2 separate regions of the Homo sapiens genome follow, and region 2 is linked to region 1. Evidence: promoter capture Hi-C in 16 types of primary human blood cells and fetal thymus (Javierre and others, 2016). All regions are on one chromosome and are shown on one strand. The core of a region is centred on a gene start or on the middle of the fragment in contact, and the rest is flanking DNA. Distances in the headings are between cores, read along the strand shown.

Region 1 (3,897 bases), core at 846-3,345:
ACCACCATGCCTGGCTAATTTTTTAAATTTTTGTAGAAATGGGGTCTCACTTTGTTGCCCAGGCTGGTCCTCAACTCCTGGCTTCAAGCATTCCTCCTGCCTTGGCCTCCCAAAGTGTTGGGATTACAGGTGTGAGCCACTGCACCTGGCCTGTTATAGTATTAGTGTACCCCAGTGAATCCTATCTCCCAGTACCCATATCCCTGTGTAGTTTCCTTCTATAATGACTTTAGAACTGGTCATATGACCTGCTTTCATCAATGAGACATTAACAGATGAAACACATTAACAGATGAAACACAAACATAGGTATGAAAAGAGCTTGCCTTCTCTGACTGGAAACAAGCTGTCCTGTGAAAAAGTCCAGCGTCACCTGCTGAAGACATGAGGACTCAAGCCATAGCCGGCACTAACAGTTTGACATTGAGACAACGTGATTGAAACCATCTTAGACCCTGGCCCCAGTAGAGTCAGCCTTGAGATGACTGCAAAATGACCCCAGAAAAGACCAAGAGAAAAAAAAATGCCCAGGTGAACCCAGCTCAAGTTGATGACCTACAGAATCATAAGAAATAATGTGGTTTAAGAAGTCTGATGTTTTAGGTCACTAAATTTTGGGGTTCTTTATTCTGGAGTAATACATAGATACAAATCTCAAAATAACTTCAAGGTATGAAGTACTATGCACTTGAAAAGTGAGGAAACAGAATCGTAAAATATATGAGTAACTTACTGGAGCCAGTTAAGTGACAAAACTACTGTTTGAATCTAGGTTGTCAGACTCCAGAACTTTTAACTATGCCCCTACAGTAGATAAGAAAAATGACCAAAACTGACAGATTAGCAATGAGGTCATTATACAGGGAAAAATGAATGACTTTGGGGTCTTAAAAAAGTGGAGAGAGCTGCATGAGAATTTGATCGCCAGATTTTGAAATAAAGTCATGTGACTATGCTTGGTACACTAAAGAGGTAATACTGCCTAACAGAGTTAAGGGGGATCATTTGAAGACACTAGCATAGAGTGACACCCCCTCATCCTCCCCACCCCGCCAAAGCCACTAAGAAAGATATAATACCCTGCCTCTCACCTGACAGAAGGTGGTGTTCCTGAGATTCATAATTGAACTGGATCTCCATGGGCTGCAACTGGACACCTCAGTGTGCAAGTGGAGAATTACCATTTCCTCTGTAAGCTTTTCTTGTCCACATAAAGGTCTGGGACCTGGAGGCAACTGGGCACCACTGGGCTTGGAAGGGAATCATTGTGCTGACTACAGATGTAATCTCTGAGACTAGACCACCAGAAAAATCCTCAAGATATAAAAGAAGGAGAAAACAAAAAATCTCATTTGACTTCCAGTTGCTTTTCTCTCAGAATGTATTAGGCTTCCTCCCCATCATCCAAGAGCCAGGGATTAACCCACTTAAGACACACATTCCCCATTCCAAGTCTAGAGATGTTCAAACAAAATTAGGGGTTAATGCTACCAAAAAAAGGTATAACTGGAAAGATAACGCAGAGAGGGGAATTTTACAGTGAATTCTAGTGGTTAACACTATGTTATTCGCTGCCCTTCCTATCCAAAAATGACACTACTGATCATTTTTCTTCCTTTTGCTTTTACAACATTCACAAATTCAGGTGGCTCTTTCCCAGTACGGTAGGCTGATTCGTATGGATGCACCACGGTTGGTGACTCCCCCCACCCCACAGAGTTTCTGGCGTTCATTCGGTTGAACCCAAGGCCAGCAAGGGCTGACTGGGAACAAACCGAACACTAGGCCGTGAACCAATCGTCTCTCCGTGCCCGGGAGCGACCCCGGGGGCCTTCACTCTCCAAGGACTCGAGAAACCATGCACAGTTTCCTGCTCGTTAGGCAAGATCACCCGGAACTCCTCTGCTATCCGCGAGCCGACATCACCCTTACCTCGACTTGGTCACCGGACCGCTGTGAAGCCTCACACCCGGCGAACCTGCCATCGCCCTGTCCGCTCTAGGAATCTGGGAGGAGTGCTCAGCTCTATGGCGCTTCACCGCGCAGGCGCAGGGCGGGGGTGGGGCACCGGGTGACGGAGGGCTGCCGAGAATTAACCCCCGAACCGCCGCGAGCTGTCCCTAGCAGTGCCTTAGCCAGGGACCTGCTTGGCCAGCGACAGATCCTTTGCTGCTCTGTCTGCCGGTTCTTGAGGTGAATGTCGGAATCCATTATCTTTCGGGAAAGCTCTCTGGGGCAGGGTAGGTTTTCTTACTACATACAAGTTCTTAATTAGTTATCGTTTTTTAAATAACCACCCCTCCCCCTATCGCTTATCTGATTCGTAGGTATGCTTTAATTCTAACTTTCTTCCTGTCCTCTCTGGTTTTTCACACCCCCAGAAGAGTAGCGCGCATCAGAATCACCTGGAGGCCTTGTTAAAATACTGACTTCTGCCCCACAACTCCGGAGTTGCTGATTTAGTAGTGGGGGAGGGGGCGGTGGCAGCCCAGGTTCTCAGGTGATCCTGAAGCTGTTGGTCCTGGGACCACATTTTGAGAACCACTGCCCAAGAAATAAGTGATGCTCAGTAATTAATCCCTGAATTAACGGAAAGTTGGATTTTTATCTACTTTGCAATCTAGAAAGGGTACGAGGTCTATTTAAGGTTTGCTTGCTAGAACAATTCTCACTGATCAGGGTGAGAAGGACCCGAAATGGAGGGTGCGGGGTAATCAGGGTAGGAAAGGATATTGCTGTGTTCATGGAAATATCTTGGGAAATGAGGAGTTGGGACCTCATTTCTGTTGAGACCAATGAGACGTGTGACTTGGTTTAAGCTGTCCGGTGGGGAAAGGAAGAGGTTTGAGAAAATGGTGGGTGGCTAAGTGGTAGTTGAGGTGGAGGAAGAGGGCTTCCTGTCCCAGCCCAAGTCCCTGTTGGGATATATGAAATTTAGGGATGTATGACTAAGCCCTTAATATAACCGTAAGAGGAAAGAGATGTGGGAACTTGAGTCCAACCCTCCCAAGTAGGGAGTGCAGATAGTTTTAAAAAAACAGCTTTCTTTTTGGCCAGGCGCAGCTTAGGCCTGTAATCCTAAAACTTTGGGAGGTTGAGGCAGGTGGATCACCTGAGATCAGGAGTTGGAGACCAGCCTGGCCAACAAGGTGAAACCCTGTCTCTACTACAAATACAAAAATTAGCTGGGCATGGTGGTGTGCGCCTTTAATCCCAGCTACTTGGGAGGCCGAGTCAGGAGAATCGCGTGAACCCATGAACCCAGGAGGCGGAGGTTGCAGTGAGCCGAGATTGCGCCACTGCACTCCAGCCTGGGTGACAAAGCGAGACTTTGTCTCAAAACAAAACAAAACAAAACAAAACAAAACAGCTTTATTGAGGTATAACTGACATAAACAGCAAATATTTAAAGGATATAATTTGATAAGGCTTGTTAAATGAATACAGCTGTGGAACTATCACTGCAATCAAAATAATATGTTTATTACATCTAAACCCCAAAAGTTTCCTCCTGCCCGTTGGTAAGCCTCTCTCCCAATGCCCCCTCCACTGGTCAGCTGTTACTAGAGATTAGTTTGCATTTTCTAGATATTTATTTAAATGGAATCATACAGAATGTCCTTGTTTTTGTCAGAGTTGTTTCACTAAGCTTTTATTTTGAGATTTATCTTTATTGCTGTGTGTATCAATAGTTAATTTTTGTTGCTGAATAATATTCCATTGTATGTATATACCACAGTTTGTTTATCCAATCACCAGTTCATGGGCATTTGGGTTATTCCAGGTTTTTACTGTTACAAGTAAAGCTGAGAACATTCATGTACACACGTCTTTATATGGACATATGCTTTTTTCCCCCTCTCTCATGGTAGATGTACATTTAATGTTTAAAAAAAC
Region 2 (3,897 bases), core at 451-2,950, 81 kb before region 1:
AGGGCCATGCTACTTTAAACAGAATGGTGGGGATAGGATCTTATTATATAGAGTGGTAGAAAGGCCTCTCTGATGAAGCGACATTTGAGCAGAGACCCTCCTTCTAGATGATCATCCTGGATAAAATAGGAGCCAGAGATTAAGAGGGAAATCCTACTTGGGAGCATCTCCTTCCTTCTCTCCAGCACTGCTTCCATAGTTCAGGAGTGGCTGATAGCTAAGCAAGGTTAGAGTTTTTCCAAGGGAATTTTTATAAGAAACTACACAAAGGAAATACAGTAATTTAGAAAGAGATTTAGAAAACATTGTTCACCCTAACTTGGCAAGTACTGGCTCTCTGAAGGCTTATACTGGGACACGTAATACCTCCAGTCTAGAAATTGTCTTGGTATACTTAGAAAAGTGAAAGTCTTTTCACGAAAAAGTATTTTCCGTCAGGAAAGGGAGGGAGACCATCCCAGCCTCAGCAGCTTGGTGTGGTGGTGACTACAGAAGTGATCAACCTCAAAGCCAGGTGTGGCAAGAACCACATCCTACCTGTGAATGTCCTCATGGAGGCCTTTCCTACATTTTTTTTTAAGATTCGTAGAAATTTGAAACAGAATGCAACAGGTCCAGGATCTTGCAGTACAAGGCAGAGAGAACCAGAATCACTTGATAGAATAATAGAACCATTTCTTAAGGCCACAACATGATTTCTGTGGTACTGAGTCATGTCTTATGAAAGCTTCTGGGAGATGATCTTGGTCTCAGTACTGTAAAGTACTAATTGATGCCAGGATTTTGATAGTAATGACTAATCATTGAGGTCACTTTGGAATATAAACTATCAAAAATGAATTTGAGACAGAATCCTTACCATTTATAAAATGATTTCCACTTAAACTAGTAATAATAAATGAGTATGCCATATGCTATGGTTTGAATATTTGTCTCCTCCAAAACTTGTGTTGAAACTTAATCCCAAGTGTGGCAGTATTGAGAAGTGAGGCCTTTGAGAGGTAATTGAATTATCACCCCTGCCCTCATAAATGGATTAACTCATTCATGGATTAATGGGTTAATTGGTGATCATAGGAGAACTGGTAACTTTATAAGAAGAGGAAGAAAGGGCTGAGTTAGCATATTAGCATGCTCAGCCCCCTCACCATGAAATGCCCTCCACTGCCTCAGGACTCTTCAGAGGGTCTCCACCAGCAAGAAGGCTCTCACCAGATGCACCCCTCCACCCTGGACTTCTCAACCTCCATAACTATAAGAAATAAATTCTTTTTATAAATAAATTACTCAAGTTCAGGTATTCTATTCTAAACAACAGAAAATGGACTGAGACACCATATTTGTGAATAAATACAATAAATAATTTTAAATTCCTTTTGTAATAACTATTTAGACCCATTTGATTTGATTTTTATATATTTTTTCAAGTTAGGTTTATTTAGTTTGCTGCAGCAAGAAAGAGAACACGGCACAGAAACTATGGGGTGTGTCATTAAGAAGGAATTGGGAAGGGCTTATGTTAAGATTTGAGCTTATGTTGGGTGATTCTAAGGAGATTGTAGAGACAGCAGGTAGATCCATTTTAAGTAAATTCTAAAGAGTAAAACAACAACTCAGTTTTCTTATTCAGTATCACATTGCATCACTAATTCTTCTCCCCAGACTACCTTTCTCACCCTAACCTTTTCATTAGGCCTTGAGAGGGCCCAGGGAATCACTTATCATCAGTACCTCTCTGGGTTGCTTTTAATCTTATTTATATAATTACTTCAGATAAAGGCACCCCCAGTAGTCACAGTCAGCCCCAGCCAAGTCATCTCCCCAGACATGTCCAAAACTGTTGTACTTTGCTTTTATAAACTCATTTTAAGCTCCTGTCTTTCAGCAGCTTCAGTTAAAATGCCACCATGGGCCGGGCGCGGTGGCTCACGCCTGTAATCCCAGCACTTTGGGAGGCCGAGGCGGGCGGATCACGAGGTCAGGAGATCGAGACCATCCCGGCTAAAACGGTGAAACCCCGTCTCTACTAAAAAATACAAAAAATTAGCCGGGCGTAGTGGCGGGCGCCTGTAGTCCCAGCTACTTGGGAGACTGAGGCAGGAGAATGGCGTGAACCCGGGAGGCGGAGCTTGCAGTGAGCCGAGATCCCGCCACTGCACTCCAGCCTGGGCGACAGAGCGAGACTCCGTCTCAAAAAAAAAAAAAAAAAAAAAAAAAATGCCACCATGAGGATAACTGAAGTGATTTCTTCAGGTAATGCAACCACATTACACTGGCATTTTCACATCTGAGTTAGCAGTTCTGCTGGAGCTTTAGGCACCCTGAGTCATAAGGCCCTCTGCATCAAGCCAGGTTTGTGTGCCGCCTGAGTGGCCGCAGCCCATAAGCAGCCATGTACGTTTTTCATGGATGTTAAATGTAATACAAAATAATACAACAAACAGCGATTCAACCAGTAATATAAAATCCATACAGGAGTAGAGGTTTTTCATCAGTGGGTACTCTGCTACCCTTGATCTTTTGAGGTACTAGTTATCCTAGTCTATAATCTTCCCTTTATTGGCCTAACTTATATTTTCTTACTTTATTTTCCACATTCCTTTTTGGCCCCTTGGCTTTCTTCAGCTCATTTCTTTGCATAGTTACTGATTCCTTTATGAATATTAAGCTTTATTTATTTATTGATACTCCAGTACTAAATCTTGTTTGTTACTCCCACTGGCACATTGGATTCCTCTCCTTCTAGCTCTCTGTGTCTCCAATCATTTCTTCTTTCTAAGCCCTTTCTTTCCTTCCAGACTTTCCTTAGTCTCTGACATATCTTTTTATCCTTATTCCCTATTCTGTCTTTTCCATAGAACTTTGCAACTTTACAGTTTAGTTGACTGCCTCCTCAGTATGTAAACCTTTCTCTATGTCTTATATAAACTTCTCAATATTTTGTCTTACACTCTCCGTCCTTCACATTGTGTGTTGTTTTATAAACATGCTAGCAATAATCATGTATATTTCATTTGGATCATCCTTTCTCTTTCCTGGTGACATTTGTTTTTCCATTTCAGATGAAGACATCAAAACTACAAATGTGAAATCTGCTTCAAGGCAAAAGACTTCTTTAGGCATAGAACTGCATTGCAATGTTTCCAATATCCTTCATATGAATGGCTCCCAGAGTTCCACATATAGAGGAACCTATGAACAAGATGGTAGGTTTGAAAAGAGACAAGGAAACCCTTCTTGGAAAAAACAACAGAAATGTGATGAATGTGGCAAAATCTTTAGTCAGAGCTCAGCCCTTATTTTACATCAGAGAATCCACAGTGGAAAGAAACCTTATGCATGTGACGAGTGTGCAAAGGCATTCAGCCGAAGCGCAATTCTGATTCAGCATCGACGAACCCATACTGGTGAGAAGCCCTACAAGTGTCATGACTGTGGCAAAGCCTTTAGTCAGAGCTCAAATCTTTTTAGACATAGGAAAAGACACATTAGAAAAAAAGTCCCATAAGTATCATGAGGGAATCAAAGCATTTACTCAGAGCTATTTCAGCACAAGGGAAGACACCAGATGCAAACGCTCCTTAGTACAAATCAGTGGTCTTAGTAAGCACCAGTCTCCTTTCAAGACTCATGAAAGCCACAGGAGAGAAGGTTGAAGATCTCAGGTCAGCATTATTTGCTTTTCTGCTTATCAATGCAGTCTCAATTCTGACGTTTGCAATTCCAAAGCTTAATTCAGATTTCCATCCCTATGCAGGCCTTGAAAAGGCATTCTCAGACATGTTCTACTATTTTCATTATTAACACATATAATGAATTAGTATATATCTTTTTAGACAAGTATGTTTTTTCCCTCATTGAGAAGGAATGTGTGAGTTACTCAGTGTAAAAATAGAC

Evidence for each region. The method cuts DNA at HindIII sites, captures the fragments that hold promoters and counts their contacts. A CHiCAGO score of 5 or more calls a contact.
Region 2: a contact is called between a fragment that was not itself captured here and the fragment with the promoter of ZSCAN30 in region 1, in 2 of 17 cell types (total B cells and activated CD4 T cells). The highest score is 6.0, in total B cells.

What each region holds. Positions count from the first base shown.
Region 1 is chr18:35,288,427-35,292,323 of GRCh38, reverse strand. It overlaps ZSCAN30 (zinc finger and SCAN domain containing 30), which reads left to right and starts at 2,095. Exons shown (of 4, transcript NM_001112734.4): 1 at 2,095-2,240. It also overlaps the pseudogene ZNF271P. RefSeq lists an enhancer at 1,819-1,978. The HindIII fragment of the contact is 2,453 bases long and covers 1,199-3,651 here.
Region 2 is chr18:35,368,826-35,372,722 of GRCh38, reverse strand. ZNF396 (zinc finger protein 396) reads left to right here. Exons shown (of 4, transcript NM_001322286.2): 4 at 3,063-3,897. The coding sequence ends at 3,508. Among named protein-coding and RNA genes, the nearest start is that of ZNF396, 6.6 kb to the left of the region's middle. The HindIII fragment of the contact is 1,941 bases long and covers 730-2,670 here.